Regions from separate parts of the Homo sapiens genome. Here regions 2 and 3 are each linked to region 1. Evidence: promoter capture Hi-C in 16 types of primary human blood cells and fetal thymus (Javierre and others, 2016). All regions are on one chromosome and are shown on one strand. The core of a region is centred on a gene start or on the middle of the fragment in contact, and the rest is flanking DNA. Distances in the headings are between cores, read along the strand shown. Region 1 holds the start of TREM2 (triggering receptor expressed on myeloid cells 2). Region 2 holds the start of TREML4 (triggering receptor expressed on myeloid cells like 4). Region 3 overlaps APOBEC2 (apolipoprotein B mRNA editing enzyme catalytic subunit 2).

Region 1 (3,404 bases), core at 330-2,829:
GTCATAGGGGCAAGACACCTGCAGGGACTGGCCCGCCACGCCCTGGAACACTGTGGTGTTGTGGGCTCCGGACAGCTCTGGGGAGGAGACATTCATTCACTCCTTTGTTTACCAAATACGCTTTGAACACTTGCTCTGTGCAGTGACCTAAACAGACAAAAATCCTGCCCTGAAGGAGCTTAGGTTCTTATACAAGTTGGGAGCGGATGGCACAGCATGTGTTTGTGGGAAATTGGGAACCAGGAAACCTGGGACCTGGGTTTGGTTTTCTCACTGTTGCTCTTGCTGGGCCTCCTTGGAGAAGTAACTGACCTTCTCTGGGTCTATTCTGGAGGCACTTGGTCTTAAAACCCCCTCCAGTTCTGTTCTGCACATCTCTTTGCCATCATTTGGGACTGGGACCTCTCCTCTCGGCCTGGGGCTGGCTCTCCCTGCCCCGCCACTCTTGCTTGCTCTGCAGCCGCCCACATTGGTACCGACTTTCCTGACCTTTAACTTCCAGCTTCCCTATTTCTGTGGCTTTGTTCCCCTTTCAGGAAGGACCCGTCTCGGAGATATTTTGGGGGAGACATGAGGCTGCTATTTTGGGAACCCTCCTTAGGGCGGGGGAGATGGGCTTAGAGCACCAGCCTGTTGCTGGGGCAGCCCCCAGAGCCCCCTGCTTTGACTTCTCTCTTGGTCCTCCCTTGCCTGCCATCTTCAACCATTACTGTGACAGAGGCTTGAAAGATAGGATTGGGAAGTTGGTGGCTTGCCTTTTGGAACTAGAGAGACCAGATGGGCCGTGGCCCTCTCCCATCTGACCACCTCCCATCCATGCCTCAGAACCCCGCCTTCCCCCTGACCACCATCTAAGAAGCTGCAGGAACAAGACTCCATTTGGCACCGTCTCTCCTCTTGCCCAGGTTTGTCCAGTGCTCTGGGGGAGCAAAAGGTGCGCTTTCCTCAGCGGGAAGAAGCAATTGTGTACAAAAATTTGGTGTGTCAATTCCCCTCAACTCAGCAACGGAAATCTCTACGCTCCTCACCTCCCATCAAGAGCTGAGGACAAGGGGACCTTCAGAGCAGGGGAGAGAGTGCCCCAAAGATGCAGATGAACATCCTCAGGTTCTTTCCTCCTTTATAACTGTAGGGGCTCATAATTAGTGGCTTATAATTTCAGAGGCTATTACCAGTGCCAGTGCCCCCCAAAGCTTCCCCCAACTGCCAGCTAGTGCCTGGGATGCCACTGTTAGCACTCCTTCCCTTCCAATGCAACCAGAGTCCACCAGCCCCTTACATGTCCACATGCAGAAAGAGTCTGAGGGTAGGTTTTGATACTGGGGAGGGAAGGAGGGTGTGAAGAATATGGGCAGGGTGGGGAGGAGAGGAGTGCAGAACAGGGCACTCAGGCATGCGAGGACTGCCACCGCCTTCATAATTCACCCCAGGGCCCACCACCCGCGCCCCAACCACATGCTCAAAGTGAGGGAGAGAAGGCATCACAGGGCACGGAGGGGATCCTACCTGTGACAAAGAGTAAGATGAGCAGCCGGAGAGGCTCCATGCCACCCTTCCCCAGCCAAGGGCAGAAGCAGAGTGCCTTGTGCAAGATCTCGTCTTTCCCTTGAACTGCAGAAAAGAGAGGATCAGGCATGTCAGGCGCTGCCCACAGGAACTGGGCTCCTGGGGATTAAGCAATAGTCAGGACTGGGGTCTGGAGGCGGTGCAGGGTGGGGACAGAGGGGAGGAGGAGTCGGCCACTGCAGCCCTGGCAGAAGGAGGCTGAGTCTCCCAGACCTCTGAGAAGCCAGCCCACCCTCCTGCTGGTGCCAGCCAGGGTGGCCCCCAGATGGTTGGGGCTGGTAAGGCCCTGCACTGCTCAGTTTCCTTGCAGAGCCTAGCCCAGGGATCACTATCCTCACAGCTGTATTCAGACCCTCCACCAGCTGCAATGCCCGCCATCTTCTGGTTTCAGCCTTGCAAGAGTTGGAGAACAGCTGTGCCTTTAGAGGCCAGGACCCTCATCCAGCACCTCTTAGTTCATCCCCCCAGGGCTGTCATTCCTGTAGTGTGGCAGCAGTTAAGTACACAGCTCTGGAGCCAGACTTCCTGACTTTCTGGGTGTGTAACCACACATCCAAAACCTACCTGTGTCTGTTCCCTGATCTATACAGTGGGAATAATGATAGTGCAAAGGGTTATCAGGAGCACCATATGGGTTCCTACAGGTAAAGTGCTTTCCAGTAGGGCCTGACACACAGCATTCAACAAATACTAACTATTACCATTATCCTAGTTAGAAGGGAAAAGGGAAATGGGCTGTCCATAAGACAGAAAATTTTCTCTCCCACCTGGAATTTTCTGCCCAAGTTTAGCCTTCTTGGAACTGTTGGGTGTCTCCTGTGCACACATGCTCACACTGGTGTTTATTTTGTGCACACACATGCTTGAACTCCTGATCATCCTATCCTACAGGACAGGACAGGATATTTCTCAGAGTTCTGGGGGTAGGGGTGTGTTTTTCTACACGTACAGGTTCCCATGGTGATCCAAGCACAGGGACCCACGTGTGCAAAGGCACAAAAGTGTGAAATGGCCCAGTGAGTCGGGGATTGGATGGAGGAGGCTTGAGTCAATTCTAGGAGTGGGAAATGGAGTTGTGCTGGGAGTGGCAGAAGAGGCTGGAGAAGCCTGCAGGAGCCTGTAGATTATCAGGGTCTACTTTAGTTTCCTGCAAACACTCACTTATTTGTTCTTTTATTCATTTATTTACTCATATTTACTGTGCATCTAACTTACGGACAGGGAATGTGCTTGGAGATGGGGAATTCATAGTGAGGAGAAGACAGGCCTCCACTCAAAGGGCCAACTGCCCGGCCTTGCCCCAAGGGCCTGGGGGCTGAAGTCTGAGGCTGCCTGAAGATCACTCTGTAGGTACTCTTCTAGGGTCTTTTTCTAGAAGTCAGGTTTATTGGCCCATAATTTACATATACAAAAATTTACCCCTTTTAAATGTCTAGTTGTGTAAATGTTGACAAACTCATGCATCTCTATAACAACCACCACAATCACCATGTCTGTGTAACACAATACCATAATATAGAAAGTTTCATTTAGCTTAAGCGAGAGCCTTTGTGCCCATTTTAGCCAGTCTCTTTCTCTCCAATCCAGGGCCTGGCAACTACTAAGCTGACATCTGTTTCTGTAGCTTCCTGCCCTTCCTAAAATGTCATAGACATGGAATTAAATAGTATGTAGCCTCTTGGGTCAGTCTTTATTCACTCATCAGAATAAATTCAGCATGCGTGAAGTTTCACTTCTCAAGAATGTATTCCTTTTTATTGCTAAACCATCTTTCATTCTATGGTTGAACCACAAGTAGCGTATTCATTCACCCGCTGATGGATATTTGGGTTGTTTCC
Region 2 (3,702 bases), core at 1,182-3,681, 65 kb after region 1:
TCCTCTTCCAGAATTTATCATACTTTTCTTAGAAACTTCAGTGTGTTTAAGAAAATGACTCTTATTACCATCAAGTGTTAGTAGGTGCTTTACACCTAGCCGTACTAAGATTTCTTAAAACTTTGCTGTTTGTTATGTACACGCTGTTTGTTATGTATCAAGTGATTATTCATATGCTTTGTGTAAATCGTTTCTATACATATTAAAACTAATCTTTTACACTTAGAATGCTTTCAGATTCACAGAAGAGTTGTGTAGGTATTGCATACTTCCCTGATGTGCTATGTTCAATGTCTTCTATTATTAATATAGTCCAATAGTATGCTACATTTCTCACAATTAATGAGTTGATATTGATACATTACTATAATTTTACAAAATTGATGAGTAGAACTCATATATTTATAATGCGTGGTAGGATAGTTTGATGTGTGTATTAACTGTGAAATTACTAAATCAAGCAATACCACATATACTTACTTGTTTTGTGGTGAGAACATTTAAAATCTATTTTCTGTCATTTTCAATTGTACAATTCATAGTTATGAACTGCACTCACCATACTGTGCAATAGATCTCTTGAACTTATTTTTTCTGTCTAACATATTGTGTTTCTTCAACAATACCTACCCAGTTTGTCCAATTCCCAGCCTCTGGTAATGCCATTCTACTCTGTTTCTGTGGTAGATTTTATTAATTGAAGTCCTTACTTCATTCAGATTACCCTGGCTTTTACCTCATGTACTTTCTGTGCTCCAGGATCCCACCTAGGAAGCCACATTGCTTTTAGTCTTCATGTCTGCTTAGGCTCCTCTTATTCATAGCAGTTTCTGAGAATTATTTCTTAGTTTTGATGGCCTTGACAGTTTTGAGGAACGCTGCTCAGGTATTTTGTAGAATGTCCCTCATGTGGAATTTGTTTGATGTTTTTCTCCTGGGGCCAGCGGCTTTGGGGAAGGAGACTGCACAGCTAATTGCCCTGTCATCACATCAAGTCAATGACACATTCTAACAACCTGAGTTATCCCTGTGGGTCTGCACTTTGGTTGCCTGGCTGCCACAGTAAGTGTCAGGTTTCTCCACTGTACAGTTACTCTTCTCTTCCTTCCCATGCTATCCTCTGGAGGAAAGTCACCTGCACAGCCCATGCTTAAGCCGTGGGAATTTATGCTTCTGCCTTGAGGGCAGAATACCTATAAGAATTGTTTGCAATCTCTCTCAGTCCCTTCAGGCTGCTATGAGAAGATGCCTTAGACTGGAGACTTTCTAAATAATAGAAATCTCTTTCTCAAAGTTCTGGAGTCTGGGAAGTCAAAGATCAAGGTGTCAGTGGATGTGGTATCTGCTGAGGGCTGCTCTCTGCTTCCAAGGTGGTGCTTTCTTGCAGTAACCTCAGTTGACTGAAGGCATGAACACTGTCCTCATATGGCAGACAGCGCAAATCTGCTTCCTGCAATCTCTGGTATAAGGGCATTAATTGCATTCTTGAGGATGACGCCCTCATGACTTAAGATTTTCCCACAAGATCCCACCTCTTAACGCTATCACATGGAAATTAAGTTTGAATATATGAGATGGGGGAACAACATTCTGAACACAGCAGAATCCTTATGCATGGGATATTTGTCTATTCCCCCCCCCAGTTCTTTATTCAGTCATTTACTTACATCAGCATGGACTCCTAGAGATTTAATATATACATTGGGTAGTAATCCAGTACCACTTGGTTTTGTTGCTAGATAGTTCTCACTTCGGCCATTTTCTTTTTCTGTACATTTTACACACGCGTTGTTCTTTCATCCACTGATGTATTCATCCAACAAGCACTGATTGAGATGATCCCAAGCTACCATAACTGATCCACTCCTACCTGCCTTCCCCTCCAACTTTCCCTGACCAGCACTCTCTTTCCTCCCTGCTTTCCTGGCCCCACCATTTCCAGGGAACATCTTGTAATTCCTGGGATTAAAATCTGCCCTCTACAAAATGTCTCAGGGTCAAAACTCATCATCAACCCACCATGGCTAGACCAGAAGGATTCAGGGGTCTGGTCGTGCCTCCAAGGGCCCTGACCACCTATAGGAAGTGCACAGAGAGAAGGAAAGAGGGATGACCCCAGCTTTATTCACCAGCTTTATTCTTGGCCATGCTGAGAGCTGCCCCTAGCAATAGAGGAGCAGTATGACTGGCTGGAAGGCATAAAGCAGCAGACATGGGGAGAAGTTCAGTGAAAGGCGGCAGAGCAACACAGCAGGGCTGAGGTGCCCAGGCCCAGAGACAGACCCTGTAGCTGGTGGCCCCTTTCAAGGCCTGGCTGCCCCTCCTCCCCTGGTCTGCAGAGCCCGCCCTCCCAGGCCGACCATTTCCCCAGCAAGACATTGACTTCCTCAATTTTACCAGCTGAGAGACACTGGGAACCTGGGGCAGAATCAGACCCAGCGTCTGACTCCTCCTGAGAGGGCTCCCTTTTTTCTCCTCTCCTCCGCTGTCAGAAACAGATCTGGGCTGGAATGGCCTGGGGTGGGGTCCACACCTGCTGCTTCCACCTGTGCTGCTGCTGCTCCTGGCCTCAGGTGACATGGAGGGAAAGAGTGCAGGGGGTGTAAGGAGTGGGATGAAGAATGAGTGGGGCAGGGAGCAGCATGGCTGTGTGACCATAGGACAGAATTTAGGGGCCCTCTTCCATGTGTGGGCATCAGAACTAGTTCCCCCTCCCCTTCCCCAGCCTGTGATGGGGGAGGTTGGGTCCCTTCAGAGCTCTGACCTGGGTTTCTTTCTGCCGGTTCCTGGGTAAAGGGTGCTGTGCCTGAAGAACTTCACAAACACCCAGGACAGACCCTCCTCCTGCAATGCCAGTACTCACCCAAGAGAGGGCCCTATCAGCCCAAATCCTGGTGTCAGCAGACATCTCCAAGTCGGTGTACCTTACTTGTCACCAGCTCCAAGCCCTGGACAGCAGTTCAGAAGTCTCATTACACAATCTGGGACAAGCCCAATGCTGGCTTCTTCAACATCACCATGATTCAGCTGACACAGAATGACTCGGGATTCTACTGGTGTGGAATCTACAACGCTTCCGAAAACATCATCACTGTTCTTAGAAATATCAGCCTGGTGGTGTCTCCAGGTGAGCTCTTTTCTTGAGGAAATACCTCTGTGCCACCCCCCAGGGACCTGAAGGAAATGTCATGCACCCCCTCCCATGCCTCTATCATCCCCCATCCTGCCAGGTATTCTGCTGTGGTCCAAGGGGAGCAAAGATCCTGTCCCCAAACATGGACTCTCACCTCTCCTCCACCCGGTACATCCTGGCCTCAATTGTTGGGAAGGTACCCTCAGAGGTCCCTGGACAGAGACACAGTCTGTCTGTCACTCTGCGTCTCTCTTTGTCTTACACAGGCACACCCACAACTCTTCTTTTCACACACACACTAACACACACACACCAACAACTCTGTCATGCAGATCTTAGGCACAGACCACTCCTGGCTTAAGACATCCTGAGGGTCTGGCTCTGGGCCCCTACCTCCTCTTATGTATGGGGTAGACCCTACTCTCTTCTGGGCCCCTGGAGAGTCATTGTCTGCTGTCTTTTCTCTTTAGCCCCAACCACGTCTCCTATGTGGACTCTTCCCTGGCTCCCAACAAGCACAGGTAGGTTGGAGGCCTCGGTGGGGGAAGATTAGAAGGGTCACCAGGCAG
Region 3 (3,613 bases), core at 9-2,508, 100 kb before region 1:
TCTAAGGTATAGGCAGGTTAAAGATTCAGTGATTTAGAAATGTAGGGGTATGTTGTGCTGGAAGAGTGATGGTGGAGACAATGTCCTAGTAGGGTGACCAAAATGCACACCTCAGTCCAAATTCTCCTCTCCTTCAGATAAACCCTTCTGGATTTTTTAATGCTTTTTTTTTTTTTTTTTTTTTTGTCACTGATGTTACCACAGACAAGACCTATTTATAGTAAGAGTGAATGCATTTCTGAAGTACTGACCTGGAAGAGCTACCTACTCTAGGCTGGTTCTAGAAACAAGAACTTATCATTCTTTCCTGTCCTTTTGTCTCCTTGACCTACAGAGAACGGCTGCCTGCCAACTTCTTTAAATTCCAGTTCCGGAATGTGGAGTACAGTTCCGGGAGGAACAAGACCTTCCTCTGCTATGTGGTTGAAGCACAGGGCAAGGGGGGCCAAGTGCAGGCATCTCGGGGATACCTAGAGGATGAGCATGCGGCTGCCCATGCAGAGGAAGCTTTCTTCAACACCATCCTGCCAGCCTTCGACCCAGCCCTGCGGTACAATGTCACCTGGTATGTGTCCTCCAGCCCCTGTGCAGCGTGTGCTGACCGCATTATCAAAACCCTTAGCAAGACCAAGAACCTGCGTCTGCTCATTCTGGTGGGTCGACTCTTCATGTGGGAGGAGCCGGAGATCCAGGCTGCTCTGAAGAAGCTGAAGGAGGCTGGCTGTAAACTGCGCATCATGAAGCCCCAGGACTTCGAATATGTCTGGCAGAATTTTGTGGAGCAAGAAGAGGGTGAATCCAAGGCCTTTCAGCCCTGGGAGGACATTCAGGAGAACTTCCTATACTACGAGGAGAAGTTGGCAGACATCCTGAAGTAGGGCAACTGGGCTTTGCCTCACGTGAGTTTTCCTGGTGCCATGGCACCAACACTTTATTATGTTAACTCCAGTAGAAGGTGTGAGGTCAGGTAGAATCTGTGATATGTCTGATTTTCCTTTGGAAGGGTTTCATTTCTCTGCTTTTGACTGGTTGCAAAAATAGTTTAGAACATGTCTCTTTCCTCTGAATCCCTCTCTAAACTTTTCCCTCCCACACTTTTGTATCAAAGTAACTTTCCCCTAACTTAGAATACTCAAGGTTGACAGGAATCCTAAAACTTTCATGAGGCAAGATGACGTTCTTTGGTAAGATTTAGATGGTGCAAGCACCTGCTACTGAACCACAGCAGAGAAGATACTGAAATCCTCTGAGTATGCCCCTGTGTACATGTCAGGGATTACTAATTCCAGACATCTTCTAGATGCCTCACTCCCATATCCACTGGCAATCTTACCATTCCATTTTTCTCTAATGAATGTTTTTTAGTCCTTCAGGGACAATTTTTTCACTTATGGTAATTTTGAAATTCCCCAAATGGACTGGTATTTAACTTGTTTTAAGCCAGACCTGCTTTCATGTTTTCAAACAAATGGCTACACTTTGAAGGAGACCAACAATTGCTGTGTGAAAATACAATACGGGAACATTTTCCTTATGTTGAGAAGACCTCAGTAGAATTCATGGAGGATGTCGAATGCAGGAATGGGGATAATATAGCAACAAGCTAGTCCATGCAGGAACATTTAAAGAGTTAAAAAGACATTTGTAAAGTAGGCAGCAGCTCAGAAGTAACCTCTTACAGATATCAAGAGGTGATAGGAGAAAGATTAGCTATTTAAGCAAATAATTAGGACACAATTAAGGCCAATTTGGCCTCTTGCTGAGGGTAAATTAAACTCTAACAGAAACAGGCTAATTACCCTCAGGAAAGAGGGCTAAAGGATCCTTTACTATCTTTTTTACATTTAGTCTGATTGAGTTTGCGCCTACAGAAATGCTATGACGAAGCCCCCTTTGCAAGGCCCCAGTTACTGATCAAAATCTTCCAGTAATAGAGGAGGGGTACTCACGACACTCTTACCCAACTTTAATCCTGCAACAACTCACATATTACTAAAACATGAAAACAACAAGCTTCCATGAAGATAATTTACTTTTGGTCTCTCTCACTCCTAACACCCTTAAGAGAAGATGTCGCTTCATAGACACGTTTAGGAAATATCAATGTTCCAGAGCTTGATGTTGGCAGGTGTTTTCTATTAGACATGCACATGGGCACCTGATCATTCTCAAGCTGAGCATTTGCCAACCCATGAAGATACAACTTTCAGCCATTTCTTTTAAAAAGCAGGACCCAGTCACTGAAGTCAGTGAGCCTATGATAGGGTATACTGTGTGGTACTCTGCTCACATAAAATAAGACACTTTATAGTGGTGAACAGTAGTCAAAACAGATTTCTGAGGGTGCCCTCTGAGAATATAAAATTTAACTTTTAGAATTCCTTGAAGATTTTGTTAGTGTATGTACTATCACTGTAATTATAAACCCAACATAGATTCTACAGACTAACCGGCAGCTTAAAATTTAACCCCAGTATATTTTCCTTTCAGACATCTTTCAGAGTCAAGGGCCCAGGTGCCTAACTAGCAAGTCCTTAGAGCTTTTTTTTTTTTTTTTTTTTTTCAGTGATTTCAAATATAACTGTATTATCTGGACCCATTAACATGCTTCCCTGTCTTCTATTTGAATTGCTCATGTTTGTGAAGGGAAAGGTTAAGATATATCAAGTTAAAAAAAAAAAAACTGGCATGAGATAAGAGTGTAATCTAAAAGCCCAAAAGAACAACCCTGCTTAATTAAAATAATCTTGAGAAATGAGCATTTGTTAAATAAAGTGTCTTATTTTACATACTTATTTCATCTTTCTTTTTTTTTTTTTTAATGACAAAATAGTATTTAATCCTATATTTAGTCAAAAGACCAGAGTTAAACCAGATCTCTTCTGGGGCTTTTTCTGTGTAAACCACATCAAAACATGAACGAAAGACTGGCTTCTGGTTTAGTCAATCCTGGTAAATTTACCCAATCCTGCAAAGGAAACTATGGAGGAGAAATCCAGGGACTTGTTGGGAAGGGCACACAGAAACCTTAGTTCAAAAAGAAACTAGTCATTGTTCGGGGCCAGCAGAGCTCTCAGTAACACATTTTCTTTGTTTGTTTTACCAAGGTATTCCTGCTGCCACCAAGAGACAGCAATGACATGTACAGCCATCTGGGACATGCCTGTCTTCCTAATACCATTTGGAGCTGGACAACATTTGACACCAACCAATCATACTGGACAAGGCCCTTAGAGGACTTGAAATATACTTCTCATGCTGTAGTTTATTTAGGCTGTGACTCTCTCTCTAATGCTGCTCTCGGGAAGGACGAAAGTGACCTGCAAGGAGAGAAATGCAACCATACATGGGCTCCAGTCAACTATGGGACTGAAGGTCCTAATTGCTCACCCAAGGGGGCTGCTTAACACAAACAGCCTCAGACCCGAGGTTTAGATTTCTGAAATATGCATTTTATGTTAAGTTGGGTATTTTTTTAAAAAAAGAAAAACAGCAACATTAATAAAAGAAGTGGTGTGTTTTTCCCGTGGCCAGATTTTTAAGAAACTTGAACATCTGGAAGTTGCCACAGACAAGCGAGCTAGTCCAGACACAGGGACACTCCAGGCTATGA

The links. Contacts are between HindIII fragments. The CHiCAGO score rates a contact against its expected background, and 5 or more counts as called.
Region 2: a contact is called between the fragment with the promoter of TREML4 here and the fragment with the promoter of TREM2 in region 1, in 2 of 17 cell types (neutrophils and monocytes). The highest score is 9.3, in neutrophils.
Region 3: a fragment that was not itself captured here is called in contact with the fragment with the promoter of TREM2 in region 1 in 1 of 17 cell types (neutrophils); the score reaches 6.2 in neutrophils.

What each region holds. Positions count from the first base shown.
Region 1 is chr6:41,161,537-41,164,940 of GRCh38, forward strand. It overlaps TREM2 (triggering receptor expressed on myeloid cells 2), which reads right to left and starts at 1,580. Exons shown (of 5, transcript NM_018965.4): 1 at 1,507-1,580; 2 at 1-77. The coding sequence starts at 1,546. The HindIII fragment of the contact is 7,981 bases long and covers 1,192-3,404 here.
Region 2 is chr6:41,225,918-41,229,619 of GRCh38, forward strand. It overlaps TREML4 (triggering receptor expressed on myeloid cells like 4), which reads left to right and starts at 2,432. Exons shown (of 6, transcript NM_198153.3): 1 at 2,432-2,573; 2 at 2,797-3,127; 3 at 3,604-3,654. The coding sequence starts at 2,511. The HindIII fragment of the contact is 15,987 bases long and covers 1-3,702 here.
Region 3 is chr6:41,060,994-41,064,606 of GRCh38, forward strand. APOBEC2 (apolipoprotein B mRNA editing enzyme catalytic subunit 2) reads left to right here. Exons shown (of 3, transcript NM_006789.4): 2 at 335-899; 3 at 3,108-3,613. The coding sequence ends at 878. Among named protein-coding and RNA genes, the nearest start is that of OARD1, 9.6 kb to the right of the region's middle. The HindIII fragment of the contact is 1,506 bases long and covers 506-2,011 here.